4 separate regions of the Homo sapiens genome follow, and all the other regions are linked to region 3. The links are contacts of gene promoters, found by promoter capture Hi-C in human tissues and cell types (Jung and others, 2019). All regions are on one chromosome and are shown on one strand. The core of a region is centred on a gene start or on the middle of the fragment in contact, and the rest is flanking DNA. Distances in the headings are between cores, read along the strand shown.

Region 1 (2,744 bases), core at 241-2,740, 60 kb after region 3:
GGGAGGCCGAGGCAAGAGGATTGCTTGAGCCTAGGAGTTTGAGAACAGCCTGGGCAACATAGCAAGACCCTGTCTCTACAAAACAATTTTTAAAAAAATTAGCTGGGCATGCTGGCACCTGCCTGTGGTCCCAGCTACTTCGGAGGCTGAGCCAGAAGGATCTCTTGAGCCCAGGAGTTAAGGTTGCGGTGAGTTATGATCGTGTCATTGTACTCCAACCTTTACCCTATCTCCAAAAAAAAAAAAAAAAAAAAAGGCTTAAAGAAAAGGAAGTAGGGCCTTTAGTTTGTGGCCTTTACCTGGACAAACAATTAATTCTATTTCCCCAAGTTATTTTTGTTCTGTACTGAGTTTTAATTATTGTGTCGTTGTTTTGCCCAAAGTTCATTTTCTAATGGTGTTCAATTAAGAAGTTATACAGTTTTAGAAGTTATGTGTGTGTGTGTGTTGTGTTTTTGTATGAAAATGGGGCTAACAGTTTGGAAACCAAGTTGCAAATGCTGCTGGAGTTAATCTTTTTTGTCACTAAAAGATGACTCAGTTACCTAAAATTAGAACAATTTTTCCTGTTTGTGGTTTGGAATCCCAGCTCTTAATCAGTTTGCATCTTAGTTCCAAATTTGTAGCCATGGATAACTTCCATGAAACCACAGCTTTCTCTTGAAAGAGCAAAGAGCATGTAATATATTAATAGAGCTGTCAAGTTTGAAATGCTACATCTCAGAAAGTACTTTATGTGCAGACTAAAATCTGCAAACAATCTCAGAGCCTAAAAACAGATTGCATAAGCTGTTGCTTGATCTCTGTGAGAGGCAATTAGTAGTGAGTATGCTTGTTGAACTCATGTGGTCTGGGTTTGACTTCAAGACCAGGTAGGTCCTCCCTGACCTGTGATTCAGAATAAGCTCTAACACCTGTCTTATTTCAGTTTCCTCATTTGTAAATACAACAGTGTCTCGTCTACCTCATGGGCTGTGTGTCTATTTAATGAGATACAAATTTGTGAAAGCTTAGAGCACAGCACTTGCCAGTAGTAGGTGCTCAGTGATTTTTTTTTTTTTTTTGGTCTTTTACCTCCCTTTCCTTTTGGTCTGTCAAAAAGATAGTATTTGTCCAGTCTAGTTGATGAGGTTATTGGGAGCAGAACTAAAGTGATAGAGATAAAAATCTATTAAAAAGCCAAGAGAATATAACCTTGTGTGATTATAAATAATAAAAATTTAAAAATAGAGTTTGAAAATAAAAATACATACTTTTTATAGCAAATGTATTCAAATAGTGAAGGAGTAAGAATAAACAGGTTTGGCTTTTACCTTATAGACCCATAAAATGATTATATTTTTACAGAGATTTGTTAATTTATGCTCATTTTTTTAAATTTAAAATTTTTGTGGGTACATCGTAGGTGTATATATATTTATGTATGCTCATTCTTATAAGCCTATTTTCTCCATAAGTTCCTAGTATCTCTATGCACACATTCTCTACCTGTACCATATTCTGAGATTTATAATATAACGACATGTAGGGTTGAAATTGGAACAGTAACAATAACAAATCTGTCCTGGTGAAATGCTGGTCATTGGGAAATACAACCACCAGAGGCAGAGCAATGTAGGATAACTTTCTGGTTTCATAAGACGTTTTGAAAGCCTACATGATATAGACCAGCTGCCAGATGATTGATTTGGTTTTGGCCTCCCCATTCTATAATTTCAAGTCACCAGGCAGAGCTGCTTCTGATCCTCATCTGCTCTTCAGTGTCTTAAACACTGATGGGCAGGAAACGCCTGGGTGTGCCTAGCTCAGAAGCTGAGGGCAGGGAGCCTCTGCCCTCCTGAGCCTGGGGCTGCTGGGGTGGAAAGGCTGGAGCAGTAAGCTCTGTCTCAGGACACCACATGTGCCAGCCATGTTCTAAAGTCAGGACTTGGGAACTGCGTGGGTGCTGGGGAGGTTGTCTCACCTGTGAAAGAGGGAGACTGAACTCCTTCCTTCTGTGGGGATTGGTGTGCTGGGCCCTGGGAAATCTCTATTAATATTGCTTCCCTTTGGTTCTTTTCATTTAGGTAGTTTATGTGGTGGTGAATACTAAACTTTCTTTTCTTTCTTTTTTTGTTTTTTGACACAGTCTCTTTGTCACCGAGGCTGGAGTGTAGTGGTGTGACCTCGGCTCATTGCAACCTCCACCTCCCCGGGTTCAAGTGATTCTCCTGCCTCAGCCTCCTGCGAGTAGCTGGGATTACAGGCGCATGCCACCATGCCCAACTAACTTTTTGTATTTTTAGTAGAGATGGGGTTTCACCATGTCGGCCAGGCTGGTCTTGAACTCCTGACCTCAGGTGATTTGCCTCCCAAAGTGCTGGGATTGTAGGTGTGAACCACCGCGTCCGGTCCTATTTTCTTTTAAATTAAACTAAATGATATTCATTATTGCTCTTCCACTTTTATGCTTGTTCATTCTTTTAAATATTTTCTATTAATAAGTTAACTTTTGAATAGCCTTCTTGGGGGAATGCAGAGATCTTGCTGTTGGATTCATTTTTCTCTTTCCTGCATTCATTTTTTATTTGTTATGTTTTGATGGATGAAATTTTGTCTATAGTTTATGGTCTTCATAATGTATTACATATTTTGTCTTTCACTTTATTATGCTACCTTGGATTTTTTATTGATCTTCTCATCCACTCATCTGCCCCCTTTGTTTTAAACCTGAGTTTGTCTGTATTTCCCCTCTCAGTGGCTTT
Region 2 (2,813 bases), core at 50-2,549, 41 kb after region 3:
TGTTGACCATGTGCATGACGAAAACTTTACAATAGGTTTTAAGCTTTTTTTGACTTGACCCACAGTAAGATATAGCACACATACACAACTGAAGAAAAAGTTGTTCATAAACAGTATTGCTTTCTGGAATGTGCTCTGATGCTTTCTATTCTATTTCATTATTTAAAAAGTGCTGGTATGACATACTACATTGATTTCATAACCCACTAATGGGTCACCAGTAAAATTTTTAAAAACCAAGTTAAAGGGAATGAGGAATTAGGGATATCAGCCTTGTTAAGATAGGGAAATGAAGATGTTCATAGTTTGCAAAAGTTATAAAGTTGTTACTCCCTTAAGCATAGAGCGTACGCTCAAGGAAAAATCAATCATAGGCAGCCACAGAGGGGTGTTTATAGAGGGAAAGCAGCCCTGATGTTCTGGTTTGGTTGAAGGAAGTCTTTTATGAGGAGAAGGTATACTGTTTATCAACTGACATAGCTGTTCTTATAAAAGAGCTCAGCTGGGCGTGGTGGCTCATGCCTATAATCCTAGCACTTCGGGAGGTCGAGGTGGGTGGATCACCAGAGGTCAGAAGTTCGACACCAGCCTGGCTAACATGGTGTGACCCTGTCTCTACTAAAAATACAAAATGAGCTGGGTGCGGTGGTGCGTGCCTGTAATCCCAGCTACTCGGGATGCCCAGGCAGGAGAGTCGCTTGAACCTGGAAGGCGGAGGTTGCAGTGAGCTGGCATCTCGCCACTGCACTCCAGCCTGAGCAACAGAGACTCCATCTCCAAAAACAAAAGCTGATAATAGAAGAGATAGATTGGGGCTGTAGGTTAGAGACAAGGGAGGAATACGGTAGTACAAAAGACATGTTAAAATATTCCAGAGAGGATATGAAGGTTTAAAACATGATTTGAAAAGGCAGGAATTCAGGACAAAAACACAGCAGAAAAGGATAAGGTATTCTTTGTCATTGTTTTCTTGAGTAACAATTACAAGGAATTATTAAGATGTAGTGACAAGAAGGGAAGGAAAGAAAGCCTGTCTCTTTGAGGACAGGCATTGTTCCAGGTCCTGTTCCATCTTTTGTCTTGTTGAAAGGAAGGTCAACATTTTGGCAAAAGCAACATGACAGTGCCCCACTTACCTGATTTTTGGCCATCTTGAACCTCTGAAACACAACTCTGTTCCTGGAAGTAAATGGAAAAGGGTCAGAGATCTAAAGCAGTGATTCTAAACTTAGCTCTAGGGGGTCTACGGACCCCCCCGAATTTTATATTCTGGTAAATTCTGGTGTGTTTTTTAGGAGAGGGAGTTCATAGCCTTTATCAGATTGTTGAAGCAATCTGAGAACCCTAAAAAGTGTAAAAGTAAGTCACTGAGCTGAATATTCTTGTTACAAAGCTCCTGTGCTTTCACTTAGCATCACAGATTCTGAGTTCAGAAGACCTAGGAGATGATGGTTATTGGTTATTATCACTGTAGTGCCCCAGCAGGAGGCTGTATAGCATGTGTTTGATCTAGGGAGGATTTTTATTCATTTACAAGGCAGCAAACTCCAGTGCTGAAAAGTGTGACCTTTTGGAAATATCTTCCTTACATTGAGTTGAATTCTGAACCCTGTGTCATTTACTTATTACTCCTAGTTCTGTCCTAGAGTTACAGCAGCAAATCAGCATGAAAAGTTATGGAAGCTGCTCACAAAATTTAAAGTTATGTTTCTCCTGAGTTGTTTTTCTGTTTGAGCTAAAACTGTATGGAACCTTCAACAGGTTTTCATGATGGGATATGGCTTCCCTATTCTTCACCATCATGATCACCAGTTTGTCATTGTTATTAGCAAGAAGCCGGGGTGAAGATCTCTTGTTTAATCTGCCCAGCATGGCGGTTACTGAGAATAGCATTTCCCATCTATCCACTCCCGATTCCATGGTTCCAATGGGGACTGTCATTTACCTCATCCCATTCCACTGGCCATGGTTGATTGTATTGGGGTGGGGATTGGACCTAAGCTGGGAGAAGTCAGTCCCTGTCTGTCCAGTATAAAAGAGCCTCCCCCACCCCCCATTACAACACATACCTGGGACTCCCAGTCCCCCTTACGTTGTCTTTATTTCTCTCCATAGCACTTATGACCACTTCATGCACCAAGTTACTTTCCACTGAGAGGAAGAATTAAAAAAGCAAGTGAGCTCCGTGAGGGTAGGGCTGGCATCTGTATTGTTCACTGCAGTGTTTCTAGTGCTTAGAGTGGTACGTGACATGGAGTGGGCCCTTGGTCCATCCTTGCTGGTCCTTGCTGGACCACGATGAATGATTGGTAGAGGAGTTGTAAGCGTGAACCCTGGCACTGCCGGCAGCCGTCTTTCCAGCTCCTGTACAGTAGCCAACCTAAGGGGCTGGAAGGAACCTGCAAGACGTGCCAAGATGAGAGAAGGAGAAAGCCATGGCTGCTTTGAGTGCCCAGTTTCTGTCATCTCTGAGCCTTATTGCCATCCTACAGTAACAAGATTCATCCTTTTACCTCAGCTAATTCCCACTGGGTTTCTTTCACTTCTGTTAAGAATTCAGTAATAACATGGACATGGAGGCCAGAAGTAAAGACACTGTGCTCTGTAATACACAGTTCTGAGTGGCCAATTTGGAGCCCAGTGGGACTGCCATCTCGTTTCTTTTTTCTTTTTTTTTGGAGACAGAGTCTTGCTCTGTCGCCCAGGCTGGAGTGCAGGGGCCCGATCTTGGCTCACTGCAACCCCTGCCTCCTGGATTCAAGCAATTCTCCTGCCTCAGCCTCCCGAGTAGCTGGGACTACAGACACACACCG
Region 3 (2,758 bases), core at 45-2,544:
GGGAAGCTGATGTTCCAGGAGAAAGAAGAAGATTGCTGGAGCGATGCTGGTGAGTAGTAGAGGGGCTGGAAATGCCCAGGCAGAGGGGTTGGGGTTGGATGGGCACAGGCACAGTTCATCAATGCCCAGTATACGGGCAGAGATGCAGACAGGAAGGTAGACTAGATGGCCGCACGTGGACGTTCCCTTCTTACTGTTTCTGTGTTCTTGCTGACATGGAAGACAAGCTGTCAGAGAGGAAAAGGTAGAGAGAATGAGGGAAATGCGGCCTACCAGGCAGTTTTTTTGTTTGTTTGCTTTTGTTTTGTTTTGTTTTGTTTTTAGATGGAGTTTCGATCTTGTCGCCCAGGCTGGAGTGCAGTGGTGCTATCTCGACTCACTGCAACATCCGCCTCCCGCGTTCAAGTGATTCTCCTGCCTCAGCCTCCCGAGTATCTGGGATTACAGGCGTACACCAAGACACCTGGCTAATTTTTGTATTTTTAGTAGAGACGGGGTTTCACCGTGTTGGTCAGGCTAGTCTCAAACGCCTGACCTTAGGTGATCCGCCCTCCTCGGCCTCCTAAAGTGCTGGGATTACAGGCGTGAGCCACCGCGCCCGGCCTCCTAGCAGGCAGTCTTACGGATTATGAATTTAAAACATGACCAGTCAGTAAGCATGGTTACGCTCTTTTTGTTTTTTCTTCAGCCCTGTAGGGCTGCCGGGGTGCAGGTGGAAAGTAGGGTATAACCACGGTTGGTTGGGGTTTTACAAGGCAAAAATCGATGAAATGAGAGAAGACTACCCGAGGGTGTAATCAAAGGAGCAGTCCTAATACGATGAGCCGGTATTCTTTGAATGAATGAATACATGGTTAAAGGCAGGTGATAAAGGCGATATGGTTGGCCATGCCAAAGCACTGAGAGCCTAGGAGCAGCGTGGCCAGAGTCTCCGGGAGTCGGCACCTGCCTCTCCTCGTTGTCTAGGCCTGACTGTCCCTGGCCTTGCACGGCCGCGCAGCGGGGCGACCGGCAGGGGGCGCGCTGGGATGGCCAGGAGCTCGGCTCTCCCCGCTCTGTCCCTGCTCTGCGGCCCGCCTCGCCCCTGCAAGTTTAAATTCCTCTTAGCAAGCCCAGCATCGCAGCCAATAACGCATCAGGGGGCGGAGCCGTAGAGGCTTGCGCCCCGCCTCGCTCCGCTATTGGAAGGAAAGCAGCCAATGGGAGAGCCGAGGCGGGGAGGTGCGGCCAATGGCGCGGGCCTGTTTGATTCAAAGGTTGCCTATAAAGCGGGACTGCACGCCGGTTTTTGTCCGAGGGCTGTCGAGTCCGAGCGCCGCCATGGCTCTGCTGTCCGAGGGCCTGGACGAGGTGCCCGCCGCCTGCCTGTCGCCGTGCGGGCCGCCCAACCCGACCGAGCTGTTCAGCGAGTCACGGCGCCTGGCTCTGGAGGAGCTGGTGGCGGGCGGCCCCGAAGCCTTCGCGGCCTTCCTGCGACGCGAGCGCCTGGCTCGTTTCCTGAACCCCGATGAGGTGCACGCCATTCTGCGCGCGGCGGAGAGGCCGGGAGAGGAGGGCGCGGCGGCGGCGGCGGCGGCCGAGGACTCGTTCGGCTCCTCGCACGACTGCTCTTCGGGCACCTACTTCCCCGAGCAGTCGGACCTGGAGCCACCGCTGTTGGAGCTTGGCTGGCCCGCCTTCTACCAGGGCGCCTACCGCGGCGCCACGCGTGTCGAGACGCACTTCCAGCCCCGCGGCGCTGGCGAAGGTGGCCCCTACGGCTGCAAGGACGCTCTGCGCCAGCAGCTCCGCTCGGCGCGAGAGGTGAGCGGCCCTCCAGGGCCCTGGGTCGCACGGGAGACCCCCTTCAAGAATGGGAAATTGAGGCCTGCTGGGAGTACGGGCCGGGGCCACTACCTCCTCTGCGCCCTACCGGAAGCGCGCGCGGGCTAGGTGGTCCCAGGGTCTCCGACTCACACCCCACTCTGCGTGTCTCCCCCGGATCCCCCGGGCCGCTCCTCGTGGCAGGGGATAGTGGGAAAGCCTCGGTTCCCAAGGATGCGAATTGTGCCCGGGTTCCATCTCCTAACGTTCATATCCCTGAAGGAGGGACCAGAAGTACTCTGAGTTCCAAATTTCAGTTAAAATCAAACTTGGAAAATTGCCTATTTCCCTGTCTGTCAGCCAACGCTAGATCCCACTTTCAGGAGCTTCTTAGGAGACTCATTACCAAAGAACTTACGCAGGGAAAGTTCCAGAAAGATGGTCTCCAGAGACAACTACGGGGCATTAGGAAGCAATTATTATTGCTAATTACTTTCATGCATCTTTTGCTGTAAAAAGCAGATAAACACGAGAGTGGCAAAGTGAGAGCCCTGCCGCTTTTTCTTTCTTGTCTTTTTTTTTTTTTTTTTTTTTTGAGACAGATTCTCTTTTGCCCAGGCTGGAGTGAAGTGGTGGGATCTCAGTTCACTGCAACCTCCGTCCCCCGGGTTCAAGTGACTCTCCTGCCTCAGCCTCCCAAGTAGCTGGGATTACCGGTGCCCGCCACCACGCCCGGCTAATTTTTGTATTTTTAGTAGAGACGGGGTTTCTCCATGTTGGCCAAGCTGGTCTCGAACTCCTGACCTCAGGTGATCCACCCGCCTCGGCCTCCCAAAGTGCTAGGATTACAGGCGTGAGCCACCGCACCCGGCCCCCTGCCGCTTTTTCTACTGCCAGAGACTGGAGGGGAAACTGGGGCAAGGGGTTTGTTTTCCATAGGCTGGGTCTGTGCCAG
Region 4 (2,735 bases), core at 40-2,539, 39 kb before region 3:
GAGCCACCGTGCCTGGCCAGAAAACATTATTAATATAATAATAATTTTCTTACTGAACTCTAGAGGCAGGGAGCCCGGTTGTGCACTGGGCGCCGAGGACTTTGCTCCTGTGAGTAGGTGCAGAGCCAGGCCTTGGGCTCCTAGGTACATTGGAAGTAGCACTGCTGAGGCAGCCTTGGCTCATGAGTACTAAGGGCTTCCTAGAGATGGGAATCATTTGTCCCACCTCTTGGGCTGAAAATAACTGCCCAACATCAGGGTAATTACATGACTTGGATTCCTCCACCGCATGGAGAACACCCCAATAATTACTGTGCACAAACACTGCTTTTGGCAGCTGATGCTTATTTTCTGCCTCCAGGAGTATCTCCTGGACAGGAAGCTTATTCTGCTACCCACCCCATGGGATTTGAACCCCTAGCTAATGTGAGCAGAACCATCCAGAAACCCATCCTAGTCAGGGATATAGTGGCCACTGCTCCTCTCCCAAAAGCCATCTGTAATGCTCAGGGCACCCCCACTCACCCGTGGGCAGGTTGGGCCTTGGTGATCAGTGGCTTTGCCATAATCTCCTACATGGTCCTGAGGCTAACACCAGGCACTGGGTCTGTAGGAGATGCCTGCGAGCAGAGGACTGCCTGCTACAGACATGAGTCTTCTGGAGTCAGCCCTTGAGGGTGATCTGCTTTGCTCAGTGATGGAGAGGCTTTGTCCTTGGACTGAACTAGAGGGCTGCCAATTGGGTCAAGGTCCTAGAGGAGTTCTTGAGGACTCACTGTGTACCAGGCTTTAGGGATAGAGCCATAAGTACCAGGTCATGGTTCTGCCCTTGTGGGGCTTAGTGTCCAATGGGCAGATACACTCAAAGCCCATAATTAGTTATATAATTGTAGTTGTGACAAGGCTGTAAATGAGATGTATAGGAGCTATGGGTATATATAACAGGAGCCTGGGGAGTTTAAGCTGAGACCTAAAGGACGAGGAGTGGGGCAAAGGTGTGTGTGTGTGTGTGTGTTAGTGTTAGAGGCAGATGCATGGATGATGGTGGTTGGATGGATGAATGGATGCTGGTGGATGGATGGATGAATGATTGAGTCTCCCAGGCAATGGGAACAGACTATGCAAAATCTCAGAGGCCACAAGAAGTGATGTGACTCTGTAACTGACAAAAGACTATTGTGGAAAGTGTTTGGAGTTTAAGAAATGAGAGTGGTGAGGTTAGCAGGTAGGATGATTGTGCACAGCTGAGCAAGTTGTGTACTGGACAGCTCCAGAAGATGCCAGTCTTATAAACCATGATGTGGATGGTGCCACCTAGAATTGTGCAAGCTAGAGACCTGCAGACAGGGCTCACATCACGCAAGAACTTGTATGCCATAGGAAGAGTTGTGGACTTTATTCCCAGAGCAATGGGGAGCCATGGAAGGATTTTAACAATTTGTGACAGAGCTAATTTTCATTTATAATGCCCCAAAGCAGCACCGTCCAATAGAACTTTCCAAGAAGATGAAAATGGTCTATTTCTACACTTTCCAATATGGTAGCCACCAACCACTTGAAACTGAGCACAGCATGCCTGAGAAACTAAATTTTGAATGTTAATTCGTTTAAGCAGCCGTAATAGCCAGATGTAGCTAGTGGCACCATGTTGGTCAGGACAGCGCCAAAGGATCTGACCGTACTGGACAAAGTCCTGTCATGCTTAACCCATACTGGCTATGCATACTGGGCAGGTCTACTGGAGATGCCACCTCTTACTGGGTGGTGACCTCAACCTCCCCTTCACGCAGGGCCTCGGTTCACACTGAGGCCTAGGGTGCAACTGGGACTGTGGTTTGGGAGCTGGGCCTCATGAGGATGGAGCTGAGGGGCTGTACCCCCACCCCATCCACTGCTCCTGAGCCCTTGAGGACTCCTCCCTTGCCTACCAGCTTCTTTTTCCCCTGGCACCCCCTGGAGTTGCTGACTGGGTTTTTTTGTCCTGCAGAAGGGATAGTCTTCTCTTCACCCTGCCCAGCTCACTTCTAATTTGTTTCCCCACAGCAGAAATCAACGAGGAAACCACCTCAGCCCTGCCCTATGGCATGAACCGTAGCGTGGAGATAGTGTCCACGGTGGGGATTAGGGGATGTGGACTTTGGCTTCTGTTTCACAGGGAGCTAGACTTGGCTGGGGGTGGGAGGAGGCTCAGAGGGCTCAGGGCCAGCCTATGTATCCTGTCTGCAGTGCCTGGGCCTGCACGCCTGGCTTCATCAGCACGATGGCACGAGGGCCACCCACACAAGCCAGCTTGTGTATTCAAGTTCGTCCACTTGCCCCACAAACAGCCACCCTCTGTTCACCACTCTGGCCTAGAGGTCCGCTTGCCCAGTAACTGCACAGTCTACCTTTGGGAAGCTGGATCCAGGGAAGATCCTATTGAGGCCCTGCAAGCAGGCTCGGAGTCATTTGGACAGGGACAGTAGAGGTGTGGCCTGGAAGGGGAGCCAGGGGCTTGGGTGGACTCGTCCCACTGGCCCCCTGGACTCCTCATCCACGGGGAGAGGCAAAGCTGGAGGGCCTGAGATCACCCTGCCAAAGCCAGAGCTGGGGTCCCAGTTGCCAAGCCTGGGAAGGGGCCTGCAGGGCTGGTGGGTGAGCTCCTCTCTTCTCTCCCTTTGCACGTGGGTTCAGGGGAGAATTGGGGCTTGAATGGTGGTGGGCAGAGGAGGAGGGAGGAGGGTCACAGTGATAAG

What was found. Contacts are between HindIII fragments. The study calls those that stand out against the background at their distance.
Region 1: a contact is called between a fragment that was not itself captured here and the fragment with the promoter of FAM83D in region 3, in 2 of the 25 tissues and cell types used here (bladder and spleen).
Region 2: a contact is called between a fragment that was not itself captured here and the fragment with the promoter of FAM83D in region 3, in 6 of the 25 tissues and cell types used here (adrenal gland, hippocampus, liver and 3 more).
Region 4: a contact is called between a fragment that was not itself captured here and the fragment with the promoter of FAM83D in region 3, in 1 of the 25 tissues and cell types used here (stomach).

What each region holds. Positions count from the first base shown.
Region 1 is chr20:38,985,141-38,987,884 of GRCh38, forward strand. All of the region lies in intron 4 of DHX35 (DEAH-box helicase 35), which reads left to right. Among named protein-coding and RNA genes, the nearest start is that of DHX35, 24 kb to the left of the region's middle. The HindIII fragment of the contact is 4,319 bases long and covers 1-2,744 here.
Region 2 is chr20:38,965,888-38,968,700 of GRCh38, forward strand. All of the region lies in intron 1 of DHX35 (DEAH-box helicase 35), which reads left to right. Among named protein-coding and RNA genes, the nearest start is that of DHX35, 5.0 kb to the left of the region's middle. The HindIII fragment of the contact is 5,080 bases long and covers 1-2,813 here.
Region 3 is chr20:38,925,123-38,927,880 of GRCh38, forward strand. It overlaps FAM83D (family with sequence similarity 83 member D), which reads left to right and starts at 1,295. Exons shown (of 4, transcript NM_030919.3): 1 at 1,295-1,803. The coding sequence starts at 1,321. RefSeq lists a silencer at 913-1,272 and an enhancer at 1,383-1,482. The HindIII fragment of the contact is 31,187 bases long and covers 1-2,758 here.
Region 4 is chr20:38,886,058-38,888,792 of GRCh38, forward strand. The region is part of intron 2 of PPP1R16B (protein phosphatase 1 regulatory subunit 16B); the gene reads left to right. Among named protein-coding and RNA genes, the nearest start is that of FAM83D, 39 kb to the right of the region's middle. RefSeq lists an enhancer at 541-1,041. The HindIII fragment of the contact is 4,902 bases long and covers 1-2,735 here.